3 separate regions of the Homo sapiens genome follow, and all the other regions are linked to region 3. The links are contacts of gene promoters, found by promoter capture Hi-C in human tissues and cell types (Jung and others, 2019). All regions are on one chromosome and are shown on one strand. Each heading gives the region's core, a stretch centred on a gene start or on the middle of the fragment in contact. The rest is flanking DNA. Distances are from core to core; before and after follow the strand shown.

Evidence for each region. The method cuts DNA at HindIII sites, captures the fragments that hold promoters and counts their contacts. A contact is called where the count stands out against the background at its distance.
Region 1: a contact is called between the fragment with the promoter of CALCOCO1 here and the fragment with the promoter of HOXC11 in region 3, in 1 of the 25 tissues and cell types used here (neural progenitor cells).
Region 2: a contact is called between a fragment that was not itself captured here and the fragment with the promoter of HOXC11 in region 3, in 1 of the 25 tissues and cell types used here (neural progenitor cells).

What each region holds. Positions count from the first base shown.
Region 1 is chr12:53,725,154-53,730,012 of GRCh38, forward strand. It overlaps CALCOCO1 (calcium binding and coiled-coil domain 1), which reads right to left and starts at 2,299. Exons shown (of 15, transcript NM_020898.3): 1 at 2,251-2,299; 2 at 1-113. The coding sequence starts at 89. LOC105369774 (a long non-coding RNA gene) reads left to right here and starts at 1,426. Exons shown (of 3, transcript XR_944973.3): 1 at 1,426-1,496; 2 at 4,783-4,859. RefSeq lists enhancers at 1-1,074, 2,392-2,451. The HindIII fragment of the contact is 5,999 bases long and covers 1-4,859 here.
Region 2 is chr12:54,142,570-54,146,996 of GRCh38, forward strand. It overlaps SMUG1-AS1 (SMUG1 antisense RNA 1), which reads left to right and starts at 33. Exons shown (of 2, transcript XR_007063322.1): 1 at 33-252. The HindIII fragment of the contact is 5,217 bases long and covers 1-4,023 here.
Region 3 is chr12:53,971,203-53,976,154 of GRCh38, forward strand. It overlaps HOXC11 (homeobox C11), which reads left to right and starts at 1,924. Exons shown (of 2, transcript NM_014212.4): 1 at 1,924-2,721; 2 at 3,979-4,952. The coding sequence starts at 2,040. The coding sequence ends at 4,211. HOTAIR (HOX transcript antisense RNA) reads right to left here and starts at 3,752. Exons shown (of 7, transcript NR_186241.1): 1 at 3,696-3,752. RefSeq lists enhancers at 3,150-3,744, 4,075-4,224. The HindIII fragment of the contact is 16,724 bases long and covers 1-4,952 here.

The DNA.
Region 1 (4,859 bases), core at 1,049-3,548, 250 kb before region 3:
ACCTTGGTGTTGGGGATGTAGGTCCGGGCTACATTGAGAAAGTTGACTCCACCACGGGATGGTGCCCGGCTTAGTGGTGATTCTTCCATCCTGGCCTTGAGATATCTGTCCTCCTATGAAAGAAAGGGTTGATAGCCTAAAGTCTTTCCAGTCCACCTCCTTCCCCCCACAGCTCCAGCACCACACACTCACAGCCCCTGCCACTACACCTGGAGATAAGGCATACCTGGTTTCTAGTCCCTGAGGGTTACGGGACATTTTTGAGGTATCACTCTTAGTCTCTAGGACGTAGGTCTGGCCTTCCAAGTCCGTCCCCATCCTGTCTCACACTGTACCCGCTCTGGCTCATAGACCCTTCTGAGGGTTCAGACTTCTCTAATTTTGCTCCCAAAAGGACACTGACGGGGACAGAGCCTGGGATACTGCGACTTGGTCGACAGCCTCCATTTCTCCATCCCATCTCCCACACATCCTGGCTCTTGAATACAAAATCCAACTGAGGTGTGGGGCCCTCTCATTGAGAGAGGTGTCCTTACCTACTCCTAAGCTTGTTGACCCAGCTGTATCCAGGAATGAGTTATGACATCAGAAAGCAGCAACTAATCTCTGAAAGGAATGGTTGAGTTTTCAGAGCTAGAATATGGCTGGGGGTCGAGGGGAACTGAGCCCAAATCCTTAGGCTCCTGAGCTCTCAGCTCTTTTCATCTCTCTGAGCTGCCTACCCCCATGAATTCTAGGGAAGCAGAAAGCTTCTGCTGGCATCCAAGAGACAAAGGGAAGGGGAGGATATAAGGAAAGACAGGTTCTGTCCCTTGACTTATTATTCCAGGAAGTCAAGAATTCTGGAGGCGGCAACTTCAAGGGTGGAGTGAGGCGCTTAGCAGGAACGTGGTGGGGGTGGGGAGATGGAATGTGGGGGCCTGGAGCCAGGAAAGCCCCACCCCAGGGCAGGGAACAGACTAGAAAGTGGGAAGTAAGGGGCCCCAAGAAGTGGAAATGTATATTTAACGTTGAGGAAAGGGGAGATAGTTCAAAAAGAACCTAACATTCTTCTCTCCAGACTGTGCCTGCAGCAGGACTAGAAACCTACTGGTTTCACTTTAGTATTTCTCTCCTCATTTTCTCTCTGCTCCCCTCAGCCTCCATCCTTCCATCTGTTTGTATTGGTAGCTGGAGACACACTACAGGATGGGGTTGAGAGGAAGGGGTGTTCCAAGTTAGCTGGGGAGAGTTAATTGGAAAATATGAGGGTGGGGTGAGGACAGATAACAATAATAACGATCAAAAGAACTCCTCAGTCCAGGGCTGTGAGATGGCCCTCTTATTCATCACTCCTTTCCAGCCCACTAATCTATTTCCTGTGTCACTCACAGCTGACATGTCCAACCAGCCATTGTCACTAGTCATATGCACGCCCCCAAACATCACAAACCCACACCAGGCTGAAGTCCAGGGGACAGGAACTTTAAAAGAAAACAGAAACTCAGTGGATAAAGGTGAGCCAGCAACACAAAAAGGAGCAACTTCTGTCCCCCAAATAGGTAGAACAAAAAGTTTTTTTTAATGTTCATCTCCCTGAAAAATTCCTGGTTGAAACTAATCCATGTTTTCTCCAAATGCAATTCTTCCAGCTTTCTAAGGGTGGGGGTAAATTGTCCCCAAAGATATACCTGGAGAACCCTAAAATACACCCCACAAAGAAAATCCGTAACAGCTGTAAACGTTCTTCATGTCCGAAAGAAAGTTTTGGGCACCTAAGATGTAGGTGTGTAGCCTGATTCAGATGTTCACATGATGGGGCGGAGAGCGGGTGTCCCATCCCCTACTCTGTAGGGCTCTAGAGTTCCTTGACATTCTACACCTTGGAAGGTCCCCCTTCCTCCCCAGGGATTCAGCGTCGTAAAGGCCTTTGGATTTGCGTAGGGGAGAGAGGGAAGACGTGTAGGGGACACGTCTTGCCTGGGAGCGAATAAGCAGATTTCAGCTCCCTTGAAGGGATCAGCTTTATAGAGACGCATTGAGAAGAAGGAGAGGACGACGAGGGGGCGCCCCCCACCCCCAATCAGAGTCCCCTTGAAACCAAGAACTCCCCAAACAGCGGGGGTGGCTTCTCCAGTACGGAAAGGGTTACAACCCAAACGCTCCTGTATTCCCCTTCGACAGTTCCCTTACGTTATCCTTCCCCAAACTGGAAAGTGGGGTGACCCTCCCCTCCCATAAGATCGCCCCCAATTAGGCCAAGTTTCTTACCCAACAGACGGATCAGCTGTTCCCCTCACCTTTCACCAACAACAAAAACAGCACTCCGACTTCTGGAGGGGAGGGAGAAGAGTGGGCGCGAGGGCTTCTGGGGTTTGTGGTTCTTCTGCGCCCTTTTGCCGCTGCGTGCTCGGATCTAGGACTATACATCCCAGAAGGCTGCGCGCAAGGAGGGCGGGGAAGAGGGCGTCCGTGACGGCGGCCTCACCGCGGCATCCTGGGAGGCGTAGTTCTCACTCCTATGACAGAAAACGAGGGTGTGGCCAGCAAAGGACTTCAAGGCCCATGATCCCTTAGGAGGGGGCCGGCTGCATTAGGGGTGGCTGCTGGTTTGTAACGTGCGTTGTTGGGGGCTGGGGAGGATTTACGGCTCTAAAGCCTTCCATATAACGCTTTAACGGTGGGCAGAGCGGTTTCTGTTGCGTCCCGTCCTGTACTTTTCGCACCCACCTGTGAGATAGGCGTTAAGCGTTATGCACGCTTTATAGATGTAGAAAGTGAAGTACGGTTAAGGAGGCGGTGTGAAGTGTCAAAGCTATGAAATGTAGAACTGCATTAGCCTTGGCTAATTCCACGTCATATATTCTTGCCACTACACCACAGCTACCCACCATTTTGGGGATGGGAAACTGATAGCTGGGGTATAGCAGTTTCTTCTTTACTTCAATCTCAGGGACAGACCTTGTAAGAATGATGTCTTCTGCACAGCTGACCATTTTTTTCCAACTTGAGGATTTCAGTGCTAAGGGGCCTGACCATATCCACATCTGGACTGGGCTCCCCCAGAGTGGCTTCTGGGTCTAGGAAGAGGATACAATTGACTGAGGTGGTGGTAGGAGCGGTGGAATGAGAAGAATGAAATTGAAAAGGGAGCTTGGCATAATTCAGGACCTGTCACAATTCACAAACAAGCCACTTATGGGGCCTGTTTGCCCAAGCCTTTTAAGTGGCTTAAATTAATTAGGATAACAATACATGTTGACGTTCCGGTTTTTATTTAGGAGAGGTGAAAGATTGACACGTCTCCCACACCCCAAGTCACGTTATAGACTTGGGCATCCTGTCCCCCCTCTCGCTATTCTCCATCCCTGTAGTCGGAGGCATTCAGAATTACCTCTTTCTCTGGCTCTGCATTAAAGGATTACAGTCTTAAGGATTGATTTCCTCTTCCTAGGTGCCTGCTTTAATTCTCTACTGCACTAAGTTATGGAGCTTCTGCCTTTTCCAAGTTTTTTGGTAGTGTTTTGCTTTTATGACTGAATGCGGTGTCTGCCCTCAGTGTCTTTCATCTGAAGATCTCCAGGCACTTAAAAATTAGTTACTGGGCTGCACAAACATTAAGGTGATGTGTCTGTGTCATTAGTCAGGATTTATGAGTTAGGGAACCAGTTTCTGGATGAGGAGGTAGCTCAAGGTCTGGAGTGGGTTAAGAGTGAGGTCTGTTCAAGGACCCAAGTCTCAAGAGTTCTTGGCTCTTGTCTTCCGCCCAAAATAAAGGTCTACGAGAAAACAGTCTCGGAGCTAAAAATGGTAACAACTTCCATTTCTTGGGTGCTTATGATCTGTTCAAACTATGCTAAGAATTTTCCCATTTAATACAACAGGCTTATGTAATACGCCTTGTTATTATCCCCATTTTACACATGATGAGATTGAGGCACAATTAATGACTTGCCTGGAGTCATCCAGCTAGTGAGTGGCAGAATCAAGATTTAAGCACAAGCAGTCACCATACTCCCAGTCCAGAAACTCTGGCATGTGATACTAACTCCCATTGTTCTAAGGAACAGTGCTGGTTCATTAACAGGAGACAAATGTTCACTGAGCATTTATGTGCTCAGTGCAAGGCACAAAGTAATGTGAAACAGATTCATTCAACAAATATGTGGCAGGTACTATGCTAGGTATTCAGTTACTTTTATTGAAAGAATGAATAGTAAATATTCATTATTTTAAAATAATATATGTAATTCATTATTTTAAAATAATAAATGTAATTCATTATTTTAATTATAGTCATTACTTTCAAATATTCAAGTATTTGAAGGATAGATTAAATTTGGATAGTTTGGCAAGATGGGGACTGGGGAGGGTAAGCTTCTTCTAGGCCAAAGCAAAGATTTGGAGGTGGGAATGGATAATGAGCCTAGAGTCACATAATAGCACATCAATTTCAACCTTTATTTATGTATTTAGGCAAACTCAGATTATTGGTAATGTCTGCCTGAAATGTTGTGTTGAGGATTCTGAGGAAAGAGTGCTGGGTAGTAATGTCTGCCATGTACTCCAGATGGAAAATGGCAGTTGTAGTGGATGGACTAATTGTTTGAAATTATTTCCTCTCTCATTCCTGCCCACTGCCATGTGACTTGCAGTATCTCCTGTAGAAGGAATAGATGTCTCATGTCATTGACTTTGGGCTTTGTCATGTTTCATAATTTGGCTGATGGGATGTGAACAGATGTGACTCATGCCATGTTTGAACACATGAGTTTCCACTTTCTTGTTCTTCTCTGCCACTAGAATGGGAATAATCCACATGAGAGTTGCTCCTTCTGCCTGGGCCTGGGAATGAGAAGACCTGTGGAGCTGAGCTACTG
Region 2 (4,427 bases), core at 165-2,664, 170 kb after region 3:
GGAGGCAGAGCTTGCGGTGAGCAGAGATCACACAACTGCACTCCAGCCTGGGCAACAGAGCGAGACTCCATCTCAAAAAAAAAAAAAAAAGACTTGGCTCCTCACTTGTATTGTGGGAATCCCAGCCTAAATTGGACATGTGGATGTTGAGCAATAGAGGACAGACAAACAAAGGAATCTCCAGACCCTGCAGGACCCAAGGCAGCAGCCCACGAGTGGATCCTAAAGGATTTTCATCAGCTGCAAGTCTGGGTAAGTGGGCTTTTTTTGGGGGGAGGGGAGAAGCAGCCTGGGATGCTTCTTGCAGGAAGAGGAGTTTCAGAGGAGACAAGAGAGGTTAGGAGCCACTGAGTGGGTGAGGAGGGCCTAGCCCAAGAGGCTGGGGACAACCACGAGAGGCGGGCCAATGGGAGAAGAGGGCACTGTTCCTCAGCGGACTAGGTAGAAGGAGGGGTTGGAGAGAGGTGGGTGCAAGGAAGGAAGAAGGAGGATGGGGAGCTCCCCGTGGCTGCCCCACCTGAAGAATTTGAGCAGCTGTTCCCAGCTCCCCCTTGCTCTGTGTAACATCAAGCAAATGCACGGTGGGGGATCAGCTTTTCCTCTGAAGACCTCAGGGCCAGTTCTCAGGCCTCCCCCTCCCTATGGACTTTAATCCAGTCCAGCACAGATGGATCAGGTCATGATGGTGATGGGGGTGGTAGCATTGGGTCTCCCTGGCTTGAATTTTTTCTTATTCCCCCATGTCCTCTCCTCCTTAGGTGATAATTTATCCTTTCGCATGGTCTTACATACTTCACATGTCTATAGCTCAGAGAACTAAGAAGCACCTCATCATTCTTAAGTTGGGCCTTGCTACCTGCAGGCCCCTCCCCTCCCACACTTACCTTCACACGACTGGGGCAAGTGGTTAGCTTCCCCACGGCCCCCCCAGCCCCTCTCCTCTCCAAGACACCCTTCTTATCTTTCTGACTACAATTAGAGCCTCCTCTCCCTGTAGGGGAGTGAGAGGGACAAGGTCAAGGATCCTCACAACTCAATAACAGCTGTAGAGCCTCACCTATCCTGTGTACTCACAGTGACTCCATGCAGGGGACCAGCAACAAGGGGAAAGGGAGTGGGAGTTAGTGTGGGGACAGGGGAGAAGCATGCATCGGGATTCCCTGCCTGGTCTAGTCTGGTCTGGGAGCAGGGCAGATGCTCAACAAGGCATCCCAGGTCTCGGGGAGCGGCTGGCAGTGGTGAAACACCAGCTCTCTCAGGGCACGTGAAAGTTCATGTTTCCCCTCCCTCTCCTCTCTCCCTCCCACTCTTCATGACTGGATCCAGGGAAGGACACACCTGTCACAAGTACTGCCCTCATCTCTCCCTGTAACTCCACCTCCACCCCCCATACCCACTTTATCCCTCTGCAGGGTTACTAGAGCCTGACCAAAATTCTCTACTGACCAGAGACAGACAGACAGACCTGTTCCCTGTTCCCCAACTTCCAGTGGTGCTGCGCATGGAGACGCTGAGGTGGGACCCAAAGACCTGCTCCCGTCTTCTCTCCTTAGGGACTTGCAGAAGCCCCTTTCTCAGAGTCACCCCTCCCAGGATGAGGTGAAGAGGCTGAAAAGGGAAGGGCCATAATGCTAAGGCTGGGGCAGGGGACAGCGGCGCCCTCCATGCACTCTCCTGATTAGTGCAGGTAAACATAAGGGTTTCCCCCAAATGCGAGGGTTCTGCTTCAGTGCCATGGAAGGCCCCACCAGCACCTGCTGCCCCTCCTGTTCGTCCTCCCTCTCTTCAGCCCCACAATTACCGAGAGCGAGTTGTTGAGGCAAGCTCTACCCCAGGCCTGCGTTAAGAAATTTGGGTGGGATAGGCCGGGCGTGGTGGCTCACGCCTGTAATCCCAGCACTTTGGGAGGCCGAGGAGGGTGGATCACGAGGTCAGGAGATCGAGACCATCCTGGCTAACATGGTGAAACCCCATCTTTACCAAAAATACAAAAAATAAGCCGGGCGTTGTGGTGAGCGCCTGTAGTCCCAGCTACTCGGGAGGCTGAGGCAGGAGAATGGAGTGAACCCTGGAGGTGGAGGTTGCAGTGAATCGAGATCGCACCACTGCACTCCAGCCTGGGCGACAGATCGAGACTCTGTCTCAAAAAAAAAAAAAAAAAAAAAGAAATTTGAGTGGGAGAATAGAGGTAAGAGACATTTCCTTAGTGTTTACTGCAAACCCTGCCAGGCTAGAGGTGCCATAATCTGCCCTGTATCAGATCCACAGAGTCATCCCACCAAAACCCCCCCCAGGATGTATGTGAGACCACTGGACTCATTGGCACTGGCAAATAAGAAGATGGCCAGAAAGCAATCAACACCGAACGCCCACTGCGTGCTTGGCACTGGGCCAGACTCTGCTGGGGGAGACTGGAGGAAAGGCCCATTTCACTGGTCTTGAGCTCTACATACCATGTTAAGCCAGAGAGGTACATATTACAAATACTGGAGACTCTCATGCTTGAGTATAATCCTATAATCTTATACCCACTCCCATTCAGACGTGTGGTCATATGTGAATGTCAAGCACACAAGCTAGACAGAAGAAAGAACTTCCCTAGGTTGTCAGTACTGTAGAGTAAAATCATCAGACTCGAAGCCCTCATTCTCGGAAGGTGATGAACTGGGAGAGCCCCCGCCTTGCTGGGCCAGGGGTAAAATAAGGCTCCTGTCTGAAGGCAGGGGGATGGTTGAGATGACCCCTCAAGATGCTACCCAGGAAAAGGCAGAGAGGTAAAGTTTCCAGTAGAGGGGCATGAGAAGGAGGGACAGACAGATGGATGGAGGGATGGAGGAGTGCAGGGAGCAGTGCTGGAGAGATGAATGGTCTTGGCTGGACTGATGGGCGAGGCCAAGATGGATGGATGGCAGCTGAGGTTTGTTTACTGGCAGCCCCCAGCCCGCCATCGCCCAGGGGAGAGGAATGGTGGCTGGCACATCAGAGGGCTCTTAGGGAAGCTCATGGAGATGATTTAGATGGGAATGAATCAGCTCCATATGGATTAAGTGTCCCCGCAAATCCCAGATCTTACAGATGAGGGGATGGGGCAAGGGCACTGAGGGGAGGGGAGAGAGTGGGGAAGCAGCGTGGAGCTGGTGCAGGGAAACACGGTCCTGAAGCCAGGGGAAGGGCACCCTCAGAGGGCATGGGGCAGGTCAGCCTGGCACAGATGCAACCCCTGCCTTGGTCTGTTGATACCACTGTTCCTCTTGCTTGGTACCAAGCTTTAGGAAAAGGCCTCCTTCTCCACACCAAACCAACTGTTGGAGTGTCCTTTCTGAGTCCGTTTTGGTCTGTCTCCTCTTGCCTCTGTCTCTTGTTCTCTCTACATCTTCATCTGTCTTTCATCTTCATTTTTCTGTCCCTCTCACTACCTAGCCTTCTCTGTGTTTCTGTCTCTCTCCTTCCACATTCCCCCGCTTTCCACACTCCCACACTTTCCATCTCTTTCTCTAGAGGTATAAATGGTAGAGGGATGCTGCCAGTTTCTCTGAACGTCAGCCTTAGCTCTGCCCTCCTCTCCTGGGGTCAGGTCTGATGCCTCCCTCCCTCTGTACTGTTCTCTCACACAGACCACAAGTTTGGAGGTGGTCAACAGAACAGGGAAGGTGGTCAGAAAAGTGACTTTTTGGCTACAGAAAGTTATTTGTGTTCCTCTCTGCCACCCTGCCCTCGTGCCTTCAGCTGTCCCTTCTCCCAGTGCCAGAGGAGGCTTGGATTGAGCACCCATGCTCTATGGACAACAGCAAGTTGAGCAGACCTTAACATCATTCCCGGGGAGGCAACGGGTCATCTGCTGGCTGGGGTTATCAAAGGCCCCATCTCCTACTCCTCTCCCATGCCCCACAGTGAAGAGCCCCAGAGCTGGCTGTGGTTATGAAGCCGGCTGCCATGTGGGCGACCTGGAGTCAGAGCACGGGGCAGTCACATATGACAATTGGTTGAAATATCACAGCCACTCTCCCCCCACCCCCACTGGTGATCTATGGGCTGCGTGCCCTGTAAAAATTATTTATCGGGGCCTCAGAGTGTCCTGATTTAGTGCCGCTGCCTCTGGGGCCTTGGGGCCTGCCTGTCCACCAGAGTCTAAGCGTTAAACGACGCTAAAAAGTTAAACAGCCAACGCTGGGGGCTCACTCGAGGAGGCACCATAAAGCTGTCGGAGCTGCTTAAATCAGGAGCGAGGATTCCCTGGGACGTCTTCTCTCCATACGCCGCAAGCCAAGAAGGCTCTCCTTACCCCTCTGCCACTCACCCATACCCAGAAGCCCACAGAGGGCAGGGGACACGTGGGCCGGGGGCCTGGAACAGAGCCCAAAAGGAGGCCACGGATGACCTCCTCTGCAGGGCTTTCTCCAGCAGAACAGGGGCCGTGGCTCAAGAGG
Region 3 (4,952 bases), core at 674-3,173:
GAAGTCTCACACTTCAGCAAAGCCCCAATCTAGTTCTTCTTTGCTTCAGTTTAAGATCTGACCAGAACTAAAGGAGTAGCGCCCAGCATTGAGTGCGTAGAGGGGCACCTGAGACCTATCCCTGAGTATTCCAGAACCACCCTGAGAATGGGACCCATGGTGGAGGCAGACTCCACTCAGGTGTCACTTAAATGCTGAGCAAGTTTGAGGAGGCAGGAGCATTGAGGAGGAATGGATTTTAGGGGTTACATATGGAGACAAGCTACAATTTTTTGTGTCCTCCTTATCTGGTTTGGGAGCCGCAGCACCTTATCATGTTTCATCAAGACAAATCCATTCTAATTTCTTTAAGTGGAAACTAATTTTAACTGAGGGTTATGGATGTAAAGAGAGTTCGGGCTATTTTTTGTTTTCCCCTGAGTGTGCATTGGGCTGAGCCCTTGGGGGCTTCGGTTCTTCCCCTCCTTCCCAAACAAATTGTGCCCTGGCAGCTCCTCTTTGGATCCAAGGTTGCTTTCAGCTCATGCTGGTTGCTTTTGGCCCCTTGGACCCAGTCCAGAACCTTTCAATAAAGTGATTTTCAGATGCCCACATGTGTCCTGTGGTGCTCAGAGGGATGGAAGGCAAGGGGTTGGGGATGCAGAATGACTGAGCCTACTTCTTGGGCTACAGCTATCCAGGAGGCTGACAGACTTGTAGGAGGGCAGGACAGGGCTGAGAAATAGGAAGGAGGCACTAAGATCTGGTCACAGCCCCAGGGACAGAGGCTGGGGGCTTTGACTAGGGAGTGGCCGCTGGGCCTCCCCTGATGCCACAGCATCCACCGCTCCTTTCCACTGTCTGGTTAGTCTCTTCTGGAGACCCATACCTGGCCCCACCACCCACCTTACAGTCCTCAAAATCATCCAAGGATAAGAACCCCAAACCTAGTCCCCCCCACCATATTCTTCCTGGACCCCTACACTAGGCTTCTTTTCAGCGCACTAGCTGAGGCTGAGCCACTAAGCCAAAGGGCCCTGACATAGAAGATACATGGCTCTCATTCCAATCCTTTTCTTTGGGGTTTGGGATTTGAAAATCCACAGTGGATGTAGCTTTCTTCACATTGATTGACAATAAAGGCAGGCATGAAATATTCACCCAGGGCCACTCTCTCATACTAAATATTTAACACAACATTAGAGAAGGTTTTTCCCAGACTTCGCCAGGCACCGGCTGGGCGGCTGGCGCACTGCTCACCACTCGTTTATGACTAATCTGACTCCCTAGCCAGGGGCAGCACAGCAAGCCAGACAAAGTTGGGACACTGGCTTGCAGCTGGGCTGCCTCACCTTTGGGAAACTTCAGATACTCTTCCGGGAGTCTCTCTAAGGACTCCAGAAAGGTAGTCTTGACACCCAGCTCTGGCCAGGAAAAGAGTGGACTTCTTCAAACTCTTGTGAACAGGCGGTGTCTCTGCGGGTTGGAAGGGTAAGAGTCCCTGAGATTTAAGGGAAAGGATTCACTTCTCTGGGGAAATCAGGCAGTGGGGAAAGAAGTCCTCACTCCCACCCTCCTGGTGCTGCTCACAGAGAGGAGGCAAGACCCCCATACATGAGAGCCCTCCTCCTTCCCCCAATCCTGGGGGAAAAAAGAGCAGCAGCTAGAAAAAAATACAATTACCCCTTCCCAGCCACCACCCTCGCCCATCCCACCGCCCACCCCACCCCAACCCTCTCTCTCCTCCTTTGCTCGTGCTGTGGTATGGAGAGAAGGGGAGTGACGAGAGAAAAACGAATACAAATCTGCAATTGATTTTCATAATGTTTCTGCGGTGTTTGCAAACCAATCGCCTGAACGTCCCCGATCTTACCTAAGAGAGAACCCCTCCTACGTCTGCGAAGTGCTCCGAACTGATATATGACAATATCTACTTTGGATCACGTGCTCAGAGAGAGAGAGACTAAGACGGATAACGCGTCATCTCGCCTTCCCAAATTTTCCCCCCTCGCTAGACCGGGTCCAAAACCTCCATCCGGAGCCGGCAGGAGAGGAGAACGATGTTTAACTCGGTCAACCTGGGCAACTTCTGCTCTCCGTCGCGCAAGGAGAGGGGCGCAGATTTCGGCGAGCGAGGGAGCTGCGCCTCCAACCTCTATCTGCCCAGTTGCACTTACTACATGCCCGAGTTCTCCACGGTCTCCTCCTTCCTGCCCCAGGCCCCCTCTCGTCAGATCTCCTATCCCTACTCGGCCCAAGTGCCCCCGGTCCGGGAGGTCTCCTACGGCCTGGAGCCATCCGGCAAGTGGCACCATCGGAACAGCTACTCCTCCTGCTATGCGGCGGCCGACGAGCTTATGCACCGGGAGTGCCTGCCTCCTTCCACCGTCACCGAGATCCTCATGAAAAACGAAGGCTCCTACGGCGGCCACCACCACCCCAGCGCCCCGCACGCAACCCCCGCCGGCTTCTACTCCTCAGTCAACAAGAACAGCGTCCTGCCTCAAGCCTTCGACCGTTTCTTCGACAACGCCTACTGCGGTGGCGGCGACCCGCCCGCCGAGCCCCCCTGCTCCGGCAAGGGCGAGGCCAAGGGGGAGCCCGAGGCACCCCCGGCCTCGGGACTGGCGTCCCGGGCTGAGGCGGGTGCCGAGGCGGAGGCTGAGGAGGAGAACACAAATCCCAGCTCGTCCGGTTCAGCCCACTCCGTGGCCAAGGAGCCGGCCAAAGGAGCCGCCCCCAGTAGGTAGCAGCGGCCGGGGAACGGGCGGGCAGCGAGGGAGGGAGCGAGAGAGGGAGGGCGAGAGAAGGGGGGAGGCAAGGGGAGCGGGGACGGCCTCGTGTTTTGGGTCAGTCCGATTTTATGTGGAGTTTTATAAGCATTCAAAGGATTTTATTATAACCTACAAAGCCCTCTCTCCCAACGACTCGACTTTTTACGATGGAGAAGGGGTGGGGAGGGAGGGAAAAGGGCTCTTTGGAAAAGCCGGGTGAACCCCCCTCCCCCGTTATCTCCCTCGGTCTGTGAAATTTTTAAAAGCGCAACCATTGCGGGCGATATTAACTTTGATCGTGAACTTAGAGGAGCATTTAAGGAAGTATGGGGAGCCGGGCTGCCGAGGAGTGGGGAGGAGGGGAGGGGTGGAGGGGGAGAAAGGGGAGGGCGAGGGAAAGACAGGGAGAGATCCAGAGAGGGGGAGAGGTGGGGGAGAGGAGCAATGGAGCAGAACCTGAGACCGGAGAGGCAAGCCAGGACCGCTATGATCCTTCTTAAAACTAGTTTTGAAAATGTTCAAACTATGTGTTCGCGGGTCCTCGAGCAGAAACCCAAGCAACTCTGGGGTCAGCGGCGACAGGGGAATGGGGCGAGGCGGCGCAGGACTCCACTGCGTTCCAGGCGGGGGTCTGGGCGTTTCTCCCGGGTCCGCGGCCTTAGTGCTTGCCTAGAACTGCGGTGTGGAAGGCGCTGCCCCGCGGGCTTCCCGGGGCGCCAGGGCCCCGGAAGCGGCTCTCTGGTGTCTCGGTGCCTGCTGGCCGGCTTCCTCCCCGCCTCCCGACTGCTCTCGCCAGATTTCACTGCTTCGCGCCTGTTCTCAGCTTTCCCCCCAGATTTCTGGGGGAGGGGTTGGGCTTTCCGAACCACTAGGAGGGCGGCCCAGGAAGGGCCCGAGGGCGGAGGGGGAGCAGACAGGGGGCCCGAGGGGACGCACGTGTACCTGGAGGGCTTTCCTTCTGTCCCAGACCCTGTCAGCCGCGGCTCTCGCCTGAGAACTGGGGACGGGGTGGCGCAGTGGCGGGGGGGTGGGGACCCGCTAGACCTGGCAGGGGGTCGAGGCTTGCCCGGGTGCTGCGGCTGCAGGAGAGCCAGCCGCCTGGCGGGAGGGCTGCCCGCGGTGGGCTAGGAGAAGGGCCGCTGAGCGCTCAGCGGGCTGGGGTCGCCCGGGTCTCACGTGTCTCTCTCCCCCCTCTCCTCGCACTTGCCCCCTCCCCTCCCTCCAGACGCCCCCCGCACCCGCAAGAAGCGCTGCCCTTATTCGAAATTCCAGATCCGGGAACTGGAGCGAGAGTTTTTCTTCAACGTGTATATCAACAAAGAGAAGCGGCTGCAGCTGTCCCGGATGCTGAACCTGACGGACCGACAAGTGAAAATTTGGTTTCAGAACAGAAGGATGAAAGAAAAGAAACTGAGCAGAGACCGGCTGCAGTATTTCTCGGGAAATCCTCTGCTGTAACCTGCAGACCGGGCCCTTTTGGGGGCGGGGGGAGGGGAAAATTATTTTATTTTATTTTTATTTTTTATTTTCTAACTCGTCTTCTTTCCGCCGGTGGAAAACTGGACTGTGGCCAGGGCTGGCCCCCACCGCTGTGGCCGGCACTCCATTCCGGAACCTCCTGGACCCTCTATCTGACTCTCGCTGTGGGACAGGGACCGGGCCTGGAAAGGGGGTGAAGGGAAGTGTCTGATGCACGGCGAGTGAACACCGTTGGCGCCGAGGCCAAGACTTTGATTTAAAAGAAAACACACCTCGGCGACAATGTCTTGCTGCTCGGATTAGGTGGGGGAGGGGCGACAGTAGTGAGCGCCTGAGCCGAACAATCCTCGAACTAAAAGCCTTCCCTTGCCCATGTGAAAAGATCCGCTAAGACAGCATGTCTGCCAGCGGAAACTTCTCGAGCTCCCCCCTCTACCCCGCCCCACCTTGCAGCTAAATGTGATCCTGCCTTGCTGTGAAATTTCTGTACCTTCAACCTGGTGTTAGGTGTGCAAAGTCCGTGTCCTACCTCCGTCTTCGCCAAGGCCCCGCCCGAGCCTAGTTGTTCTCCCCCTGAATGTGTAGAACCTTCCTTTGAAATTTCTTAATCGGTGCATTGAGGTTTCCACATCTTTTTCCAAGCAGTGCCCCACTTCATGGATTTATAGCTATAGTCTATGCAGTCGTTACCTCTTTTTTTTTTTTTTTTAAGAAAATTGA